3 separate regions of the Homo sapiens genome follow, and regions 2 and 3 are each linked to region 1. The links are contacts of gene promoters, found by promoter capture Hi-C in blood cells and fetal thymus (Javierre and others, 2016). All regions are on one chromosome and are shown on one strand. The core of a region is centred on a gene start or on the middle of the fragment in contact, and the rest is flanking DNA. Distances in the headings are between cores, read along the strand shown. Region 1 holds the start of FFAR3 (free fatty acid receptor 3). Region 2 holds the start of LINC01801 (long intergenic non-protein coding RNA 1801). Region 3 holds the start of SDHAF1 (succinate dehydrogenase complex assembly factor 1).

Evidence for each region. Contacts are between HindIII fragments. The CHiCAGO score rates a contact against its expected background, and 5 or more counts as called.
Region 2: the fragment with the promoter of LINC01801 here is called in contact with the fragment with the promoter of FFAR3 in region 1 in 5 of 17 cell types (non-activated CD4 T cells, fetal thymus, total CD4 T cells and 2 more); the score reaches 7.7 in non-activated CD4 T cells.
Region 3: a contact is called between the fragment with the promoter of SDHAF1 here and the fragment with the promoter of FFAR3 in region 1, in 5 of 17 cell types (neutrophils, M0 macrophages, monocytes and 2 more). The highest score is 10.9, in neutrophils.

What each region holds. Positions count from the first base shown.
Region 1 is chr19:35,357,071-35,360,162 of GRCh38, reverse strand. It overlaps FFAR3 (free fatty acid receptor 3), which reads right to left and starts at 1,703. Exons shown (of 2, transcript NM_005304.5): 1 at 1,514-1,703; 2 at 1-1,283. The coding sequence starts at 1,272. The coding sequence ends at 232. RefSeq lists an enhancer at 1-382. The HindIII fragment of the contact is 8,969 bases long and covers 1-3,092 here.
Region 2 is chr19:34,831,405-34,834,557 of GRCh38, reverse strand. It overlaps LINC01801 (long intergenic non-protein coding RNA 1801), which reads left to right and starts at 1,689. Exons shown (of 6, transcript NR_033982.1): 1 at 1,689-1,833; 2 at 2,022-2,228. The HindIII fragment of the contact is 2,823 bases long and covers 1,362-3,153 here.
Region 3 is chr19:35,993,793-35,996,724 of GRCh38, reverse strand. SDHAF1 (succinate dehydrogenase complex assembly factor 1) reads right to left here and starts at 1,537. Exons shown (of 1, transcript NM_001042631.3): 1 at 413-1,537. The coding sequence starts at 1,450. The coding sequence ends at 1,103. RefSeq lists silencers at 1,081-1,200, 1,231-1,290 and enhancers at 1,351-1,430, 1,691-1,740, 2,075-2,574. The HindIII fragment of the contact is 4,511 bases long and covers 392-2,932 here.

The DNA of each region.
Region 1 (3,092 bases), core at 454-2,953:
AGCCTCTCACCCTGACCCCTTCCCAGAGCCCAATCCATAGTGTGTGGGTGGATGGGGATGGAGGTGAGATCGAGAGCTGGGCTTTAGCGCGCATACCCTTAGGGAGGCTAGATGTCTACTCTGCCCCCAAGCCCCATCGGGCCCCAGCTCGCCACTCCAAGTCCCTCCTGGCGTGAGCGAGGAAGCGCCCTGAGGATGACATGCCAGCTACACCCTCCTCCCCCGGAGGACCTAGCTTTCAGCACAGGCCACCTGGCCACCAGTTCCACAGCCCTGTGAGTGTTCACTGGTCTTTCTTTCAGCTGGTCGGTCCGCTCTCTGCTCCTCCCCTCCCTTCTGCTCCTTCAGCTCCATGCTGCTCTCCTGCTGCCACTGGCCCCAGAGCCCACACAACCTCCTCAGCAGCTCATGAAAGTCGGCTTGGAACCCGGAGGAGGAGAAGTAGTAGACAAAGGGGTCGACACAGGAGTTCAGGGTGCTGAGAAGCGTCACGTAGATCCTCCACGCCGGGCTTTCACCGCAGATATAGCCCACGACATGGGACACGTTGTAGGGCCCAAAGCAGACAAGGAAGTTGAGCAGCGTGGCCGCCAACAGCCCCGCCACCCTCCTCTGCCGGCGGTGGCTGCCCCCTCTGCCGAGGATCCACACCAGGCGGCTGTAGCAGTAGCTGGTGATGATCAGCGGGACCACAAAGAGGACCACAGCCATCTCCAGCCGCACGGGCAGGAGGATGGCTAGCTGGTCCTTCCGGAACTCCAGGTAGCAGGTCCCATTGGTGCCCTGGCTGTGGGAGATGTCCCCTGAGAATTCTATGACGTAGACCACGCTGCAGTGAGCAGAGGCCAACAGCCAGCAGGCCACACTCACCAGACCTGCCTGCCCCAGCCTCGGCCGGGTCTTGTACCACAGTGGGTGGGCCACACTCAGGAAGCGTTCAATGCTCACAGCTGCCAGGAAGAGGGCGGTGAGATAGATGGTGGTGAAGAAGATGAATCCAGAGAGTGGGCAGAGGATGAAGGGCAGGGGCCAGTGCATGCCATTGGCTGCCTCCACCATGCGGAAAGGCAGGAACAGCAGCAGGAGCAGGTCCGAGGCGGTCAGGTTGAGCAGGAGCACGTCCACGGCCACCGGGCGGCGCTGCAGCTTGCCCACGAAGACCACCAGGGCCAGCAGGTTGAGGGGGAGCCCCACCAGGAAAGTGAGAAGGTACACCGAGAAGACGAACCAGTGATTGCCGGAGAAGTAGGACTGGTCGGGGCCTGTATCCATGGTGGTGGCCACTGGTGAGAGAGAGTAACATGGAGTTGGTAGTGGGGGCCCTAACGGCCTCTGGCCAGCAGCATCTCCCCTAAAAGGGCACGAGGTCACTACGCCCACCCCTCTTGTCTCTGGGTGCCTTCCAGGCGGGGTCAGCCTGCCTGTCTTCCTGAGCATGCCCTGTCCCCTGTCCCTTCCCCAGCAGAGAAGCACCAAGGTGCTCCTCCACCCAGCCCCTCGGGCCCAGGCTCACCTGCTTCTTTGAGACCCCAAATGCTCTGCCGCACAGCACCTTGCTGTCTCTCCAGACCTAGTGCAGTTGGCTATTTATCCGGCAGAACTGATAAAGACCTGGCCGTGCCCATGACGTCACTCACTGTTGAGCAGTGGCACATAGATGCCTTGAGCTCCGTTGCCAGGGCTGGTCAGCATGCTAAAAGGGGAACAAATTCCACAACTGCGTGCCTCCCTCCTCATGCAGTCTCAGCTGGGATGCTCTAAGCAGGCCCCAGCCGACGTCTTCCTCTCCCCTTCTTCACTTGAATTTTGTCTGCTTCTCTAGAATGGCATTTATCCAATTTGCCTTGTAAGGGCAGGAAGTGTGATGCAATGACAGAGAGCGAGCTCCGTGAGGTCTGTTTCTTCCTGACTTTGTGATTTGGGGGAAATGACTTAAATTCTCCATGTTTCTGCTTTCTCCCCTGCAGAACAGAGCTCATCATAATACCCATCTCATAGATCAACGCATTAACACATGCAAATTAAAACAATATGTAGGTCGATTAAAAGATTACTAATACATGTTGAGTGGTTTGACGGAAGCCTGGCGTGTGGTCGTGAGCAGGCAGCGGATGCCAGCTGCTATTTTCCCTGTCACTGGTGCAGGATTATCTCTGGGGTGACAATGTAATAATAATAACAATAATAATGGTGGTGGCGATGATGACAGCAGCTGCCTTTTCATGGGCACATAATCCATAGCAGACACTGCTTCTAGGGCAACGCTTTTATGTCATAAAATCCTTGTCCTTCACCGTAGGGAAGTGACTTGCTCCAGGTGATACAGCTTGTGAAATGTCACCACTAGGGTTCAAACCCAAGTGCTGTCCAGTTTCACAGGTGATCTATTAGTTCATTCAAACAATCACAGGGCACAATGAGATATGATTTCACATCCACTAGAATGGCCACAAGCAAAAAGTCAGACAATGCCTATGGTCGGCGAGAATGTAGAGAGATAGGGGCCTCATTCACTGCTGGTGAGAATAATGGGAGGTGGTGTCCCTGCTTTGGAAAGCAGGTGGCAGTTGCTTAAAAAGTTAAACATAAATTCACCATGCGATCCAACAATTCCACCGTAGGTATTTACTTAAGAGAAGTGGAAACTCAGGTCTACTTAAAGACTCAGTCCTAAATGTTCACAGCAGTGTTGGTCATAGTCACCAACAGTGGAAATGTTACCTGGCAGCCCATCAGCTGGTGAGTGAATAAAAAAGTGGCACATCCATATACTGGAATTCTATTTGGCAAAGAAAAGGAATGAGCTACCCATACACACTACAGCCTTATGTTGAGTGAAACAAGCCAGACGTAAAAGACCATGTACATATATTGTCAGATTTCATTTATTTATATGATATGTCCAGAATAGGCAAAGTTATAGAGTCAGAAAGTAGACTCGTGGTTGTCTGGGGGATGGAGGTAGAAATGAAGATTAAGTTGTTTTTTTTTTTTTTTTTTTTTTTTTGAGACAGGGTCTTGTTGTCGCCCAGGCTGGAGTGCAATGGTGCAATCTTGGCTCACTGCAAACTCTGCCTCCCGGGTTCAAGAAA
Region 2 (3,153 bases), core at 440-2,939, 530 kb after region 1:
AAGTAGTCGAAAACATACACATGAATGTTCACAGCAGCATTATTTCTTTCTTTTTTTTTTTTAAAGAGAGATGGGGGTCTCACTATGTTGGCCAGGTTGGTCTTGAACTCTTGGTCTCAAGCAATCCTCCCTCCTCAGTCTCCCAAACTGCTAGGATTACAGGCATGAGCCACTACACCTAGCCACAGTAGCATTATTATTTCTAATAGCCAAACATCCATCAATAATAGAATGGGTAAATTATATTTGTTCAATGGAACATCACACAGCAATATAAAAGAATAAAGTGCTGCTAAAAGCAACAACATGGATGAATTTTATGAAGTGTTGAATGAAAAGACACAGCCACAAACAGGACACATGGTAGGGTTCCATTTATATAAAGTTTTTAAATAGGCAAAACTAATCTATAATGTTAAAAATTTGGGAGGGGCATAGTGACTAGGAATGAGCATGAGGTTGATTCTGAGGTGCCTGTGTTTTGCTTCTTGATCTAGATTACATAGGTTTGTTCATTCTGCAAAAATGTATTGAGGAATAGACAGATGATTTGTACACTTCTGTGTATGAATGTTATATTGTAAAGTTTCTTGAAGAATACCTGTTTACAAGAGTTAGAGAACATGGAAGCTCTTTCTCTGAGATAAAACATCTAAAAAGACAAAAATTAGCCGGGCGTGGTGGTGGGTGCCTGTAATCCCAGCTACTCGGGAGGCTGAGGCAGGAGAATGTCTTGAACCCGGGAGACAGAGGTTCTAGTGAACCAAGATCACACCACTGCACTCCAGCCTGGATGACAGAGGAAGACTCTGAGACTCCGTCACAAAAAAGAAAAAACAAACAAACAAACAAACAAAAAAGCCCTAAGTCATATCATGCCAGTCTCAGCAGTTTGAAACCCTCCATGGTTCCCATCTCTCAGTAAAAGGCAACGTTCTTATGACATCCTTCAAGGCCCCATGTAGTCTTTTGGTCCCTCTCCATCTCTGTCCTCCTGTCATCCACGTCTCCCACGTGCTGATTGGGTCTGGTAGGGTGACTGGGTGGCAAAGACCTCACAGAGGTGCCTTTCTGCTCAGGTGGCAAACAGGAGAGTCTATCTGGGCCCTGCAGGATGGATCCTTCCTGAGTCACTGAATATATTGGAGGTGCAGACAGCGCCAGAGAAAGGCATTGAGCCTGCCAGATCAGACACCGCCTCTTAGGGTCGACGGAACACCCAGGAGCAAAGACCAGAAATTGTGGGAGAAAGGCCTGGAAGGGGGCCGGGGAGAGGCACAGAGACAGCGAGGTGATGCAGGCTTGGTGGGAGCGGGTATGGTAGGCAATGGGGGACAGAGGGGCAGGGCACAGACAAAGCTTGCTGAAGATATGAAGAGCAATTGTGAGCCGGCGAATCCTTGGAGTAGAGGAGAAAATTGAGGTCTCCTGTTCAGCCCGATGCAGGTGAGATGCTGTTGGAACACGTGACAGAGAAAGGGTGTGTGAGCCCAGGGCTTGTGCACTAAGCGCACAGGAGCGAAGGGGGCGAGAAGAAAAAACGACGCCCAGCAAAGAGCGTCAAGGCCCAACCGCCTGCCCCCAACCGGTCTCTAGCGCCTCGTGACCTTCTGCACTCCGTTGCAGGCGTTTGGCACCAGATGGTCCCACGCGCTCTGTTCGACGGTTGGGGGCCGCGGACGCTGGTTGTCAGCAGCACTGGGTCAGCCGGTGAACGGGTGTGCAGCGTCCTCAGCGCCGCAGCAGTCAGCACCTGTGGGTGCTCTAGCTCTTTCCCTCGGGGTCACCGGAGGCAGAGCCTCCCCTACGCGGAGTAGAGGAGCAGCTCACATGGTGCGGGGGTGGGGATCGGGCTTCCTGGAAGGCTGGAAATGGGAGTTGGGATAAGGGGTTGGCGAGGGCGGGGCGGCACCGTCTACCGGGGTGACCGGTGTGCCCTGGCAGCCAGGGAGTCTGCTGCAGGGCAGGTATTAAGATTCGGAGAGACATAGGACAAAGAACCCTCGGCCTCTTCTTTTCAGGCAGCCGCCACAGAGGACACCAGATCATGCCAACACCCCCACAACTCCTGCCCGCCTGCAGGCAGCTCTGGGCTCAGGACACCGCCTGCAAGAACCTTTATAGCGCAGCTCTCCAAACCTTGGAGGCGAGGACATTCTATGTGCCCGCCCTGGAAAGGCCTGAACCTATAACATCTGGGCTGTGATGGTTTCTGAGGTGGACACCAGGTATTCTAAACTGCCCACATGCTTCACCCCAAAACTTCCCTTTCTAACAGGCAGTGTATTTTCACTTCTTTTAAAATATTTGGTAAAACAGCATTTAAGCCTTAGAAAGTTCCCCATCTCACCCCAGCCAGGGTTTGAACCCATGCTGTCTGATTCCACAGATCATGCATTTAACCACCAGACTTTGGTGTAGCCTCACCGTGTGTGCATAATGGATTACACTTGTTTATAATACTTGGGGTGCTTAGCACCATGTCAGAGCTGTAATGAGTACTTGCACTGTTAGGAGGTCTAACATGGTTCAATTTATAAGTGGACCATTGGCCACACCGGGTCTGGCTCAGTCTCCTGGGAGGATGTAGGCAGGGACCACCAATTATCAGCATATCTCCATGATGAATTTCTCCAGACAGCGTATCACTCTGTCACACAGGCTGGAGTCACAGCTCACTGCAACCTCGAACTCCTGGGCTCAAGAGATCCTCCCACCTCAGCTTCCCAAGTAGCTGAGACTGCAGGCATGCGCCACCACGCCTGATAATTTCTCTTCTAATTGAGCTTTGCAGAAAGCCACACAGCTGTCTGAGAGCTATTTTCTCCCAGGTATAGGGACAGGAAATGGCACCTCAGACTTCTGCAGATTCCACCCTGGCTTAAAAGCCCATGCCCCCAAGGACACCAATCTTTCTTACAATAACATAGACTATCTTTCAGGGTCCTGGCCAAGATGGACAACTTGCCAATATTAACTTTTCCAGGCCACAGGGATGATATATATCTCCATAGATTTAGGTCTTGAGTATTTTCTCCTAGAAATATTTCGCAGCAAGGGTCAGCACTGCAGCCTATGGGCCAACAAATTTAGCCTGTAGCCTACATGTAAGGCCAGTGAGTGAAGGATCCTATTAACAATTTTAAAGAGTTG
Region 3 (2,932 bases), core at 288-2,787, 640 kb before region 1:
CTTGTCGTTCACTGTAGCTGAGGCTGGACCCTTCAGCCAGGTTTGAGAAATTTCCAGGTCTGAGACCCTCACTACTGCCTCAGGGGCTCCGAGCCAGTTCTCAGCTCCACCATTTCCTCTTCCACACAAAGATGTTAAATCACTTGCCCTCCATTAGGGAGCCAACTGGGGTATCTTTGGGGGTTAAGCCAGGATGAGCCCCCTCCACAGATCTGCCCAGGGGAGAAAACTATGCCGCTTCAATCAATGTGCCAGTCTACAGGGCTCCGGAAGGAGTCAGATCCCCACACCTATCACCTCCCAGATGGTCCCTTCCAGGTGTCTGTGTGCGTGTGTGTGTGGTGGCAGGGGGGCTGGGGGTGTTTCAAAAATCCTGAAATATATAAAAGCTTTAAGACCACCAACAGGGAAGTAGACATATCCCCAATTTTATTCCCTTTGTCCAACATTCCGAGAGGGAAGGGGCAAATGAGTCAATGTTGCCCCTCAAAACCATCAAGTAGGGGCCTTTGGGGGTCTTCAGTTGATCAACCAGGGTGATAGACCCCTACCCCTTCCTCATGGTCCTGGCTTGTCACAATTAATGGGGGAAAGTTTTCCAGAAGGGGATTCCGGGCTTCTCACCGCTCATCAGGGCACCTTCCCAAAACGTTCTCAGCAAAAAGTCTGCACTTCTCAGAGTTAAATACAGGAGAGGGGAGACTCCTTGAGGAGCCAGAAGTGGGTATGTTCTCAGGGGTCAAGAGAAGGGCGTCTCAGGCTCTCCCTGTCCACCGGGGGTCGTCCTGGCTCCCCGTACCTTCGGGCAAGTAGCTCTTGGCTTGACACTGTCCAGCCCGCCAGCGTCCCAGGCCGCCCCAAGCCCTCATGGGGGAGGAGCACCGACCTGTCTCCAAGCATCGGAAAAGGCGGGCCTCCCTTGCCGTCCATCACGGGGCTCTCTAGGCCCCCTGCGTCGCCAAGGAGGAGTCTCTGACATCCCCAATTCGTCAAGCTAGTCTCTTAAGACCTCTCACCTTAGGCGGGTTCCCCAGTCCCCCCATGCAGTCAGGCGAGCCTCCTGGCTCCACCACGCCATCGAGCGAGTTCGGCTCTTCGCCTGTCACCGTCCGTCGGGGCGGGTCTCCGGTGCCCCCGTGCTGTCGTGGGGGTTCCTTGGACTGTCGCCGTCGTCAGGCTGGCAACCCACGCCGCCAGGCTCCCCGGTCGGGGCCCGCGGGCGTACGAAGGCGCCCATGGCGGTGGCGTGGCCCGAGCGTAGCAGCTGCAGCTGGCGCCGCCCGCGGCGGTACAGGTACTCGATGCGCAGCACGTCGGACCGCGGCAGGCCCGCATGCTGCCGGAACTCTGCCCGCACTCGCGCCTCGGCGCCCGGCTTCCCACGCCCGGCGCGCAGCAGATCGCGGTACAGGCTCAGAACCTGCCTCTGCAGCCGGCTGTGCCGGCTCATGACCGCGGCTAAGCAGAGACGCTCAGCGAACGACCTGCGAACCGCGGAGCCGCCACACAGCCAGCAAAGGCCAAAGGGCAAAGCCACAGCCACTTCCGCCCAGCGCTTCCCTTGGCCTCCAACTCCCGCCTCCCGCCATCCGGCGCTGCCGCGTCTGACTGGCTGTCGTTGCAGTTACGTAACAGCCGGCTGGGAGAAGTGGGCGGAGTCGCTGGTCGCGGCCTCCCACGTAGGGGACGTGTGTTCTTGAGGGGACAGCAGTTCTGGGGATCCTGGCACCGCCTGGAGGGCGTTATGTGTTCGGACTCCTAGGTCTTGGGTTGGAGGGAACAGAGGGTCCTCACCTAACTCCTGCATTCTGGGAGAAGAGGAAGCTAGGGGTTTTTTTGTGTGTGACGGGGTCTCGCTGTCGCCCAGGCTGGAGTGCAGTGGCGCGATCTTGGCTCACTGCAGCCTCGAACTCCTGGGCCCAAGCGATCCTCCCACCTCAACTCCCCTAGTAGCTGGAACCACAGACGCGCGCAACCGCGCCCGCTATTTATTTATTTATTTATTTATTTATTTATTTATTTATTATTATTATTATTTGCAGAGATGGGTCTCCCTATGTTGCCCAGAATGGCTCGAACTCCTGGGCTCAAACGATTCTCAGCCTCCCAAAGTGTTGGGATTCCAGGCGTGAGCCACCGCGCCCGGCTACCGGTTCGGACTTTGGGTCCCAAGGGCACGGGGCACTGGGAGAGACGCCGGGCACAAGCGTGCTTTTGCCGTCAGTTACTGATTCAAACCATCTTGGGAAGCTCCGTGCGTTCCCTCGTCCGGGGCAGGTCTGTGTCTGGGGTCCCAGCCCTGGGCACGTGCAGAGGGACGAGACCCCGTAGGGAAATGGCTCTCGGCCGGTTGGACAGGCTTCTCGGGCCAGGGGAAGACAAGCAGAGAGAGTGTGGGCGCCAAGCCCCCAGAGGCAGCGTGTGGCTCTAGGAGCTGGGTTGGTCGCGCCCTCTGCGGGTGGGAGTCGGGGCAGTGGACAGCGGTGTTTGGGTCCTTACCGACTGTTAAAGCCCGGAGTCCGGGACACCCTGAACAGTCGACTAGACTGCAACCCCGTTGTCCTCCCAGGAGCTTTAGGTGGTAGGCCGCAATGCCGTTGTTGTCCCCGCGGGCCGCCTGGAGGTGTCCTCGTAGCGCTAGGGAGGCCCGCAAGGACACAGCATCCTCGGGCCCCACCAGCACCGGAGCTTGGGGGACCCCTCCACCCAGCGCGCAACCGCGGCTCTGCACACTTGGGCCGGCAACCAGCTGGGGGGTCCATTCCCCTTCAGAGAGGAGAAGCTGGTCAGGGGCGGGGATTAGGCTTGGAGTCTTGGAGTCAGGGGAGAATCACAAACCACTGTGAATCCTGCCTGGCAGGTGTATGTATCTATCAAAAATACATGTCCTAGAACGGTGGCTCACACCTGTAATTCCAGCACTTTTGGAGGC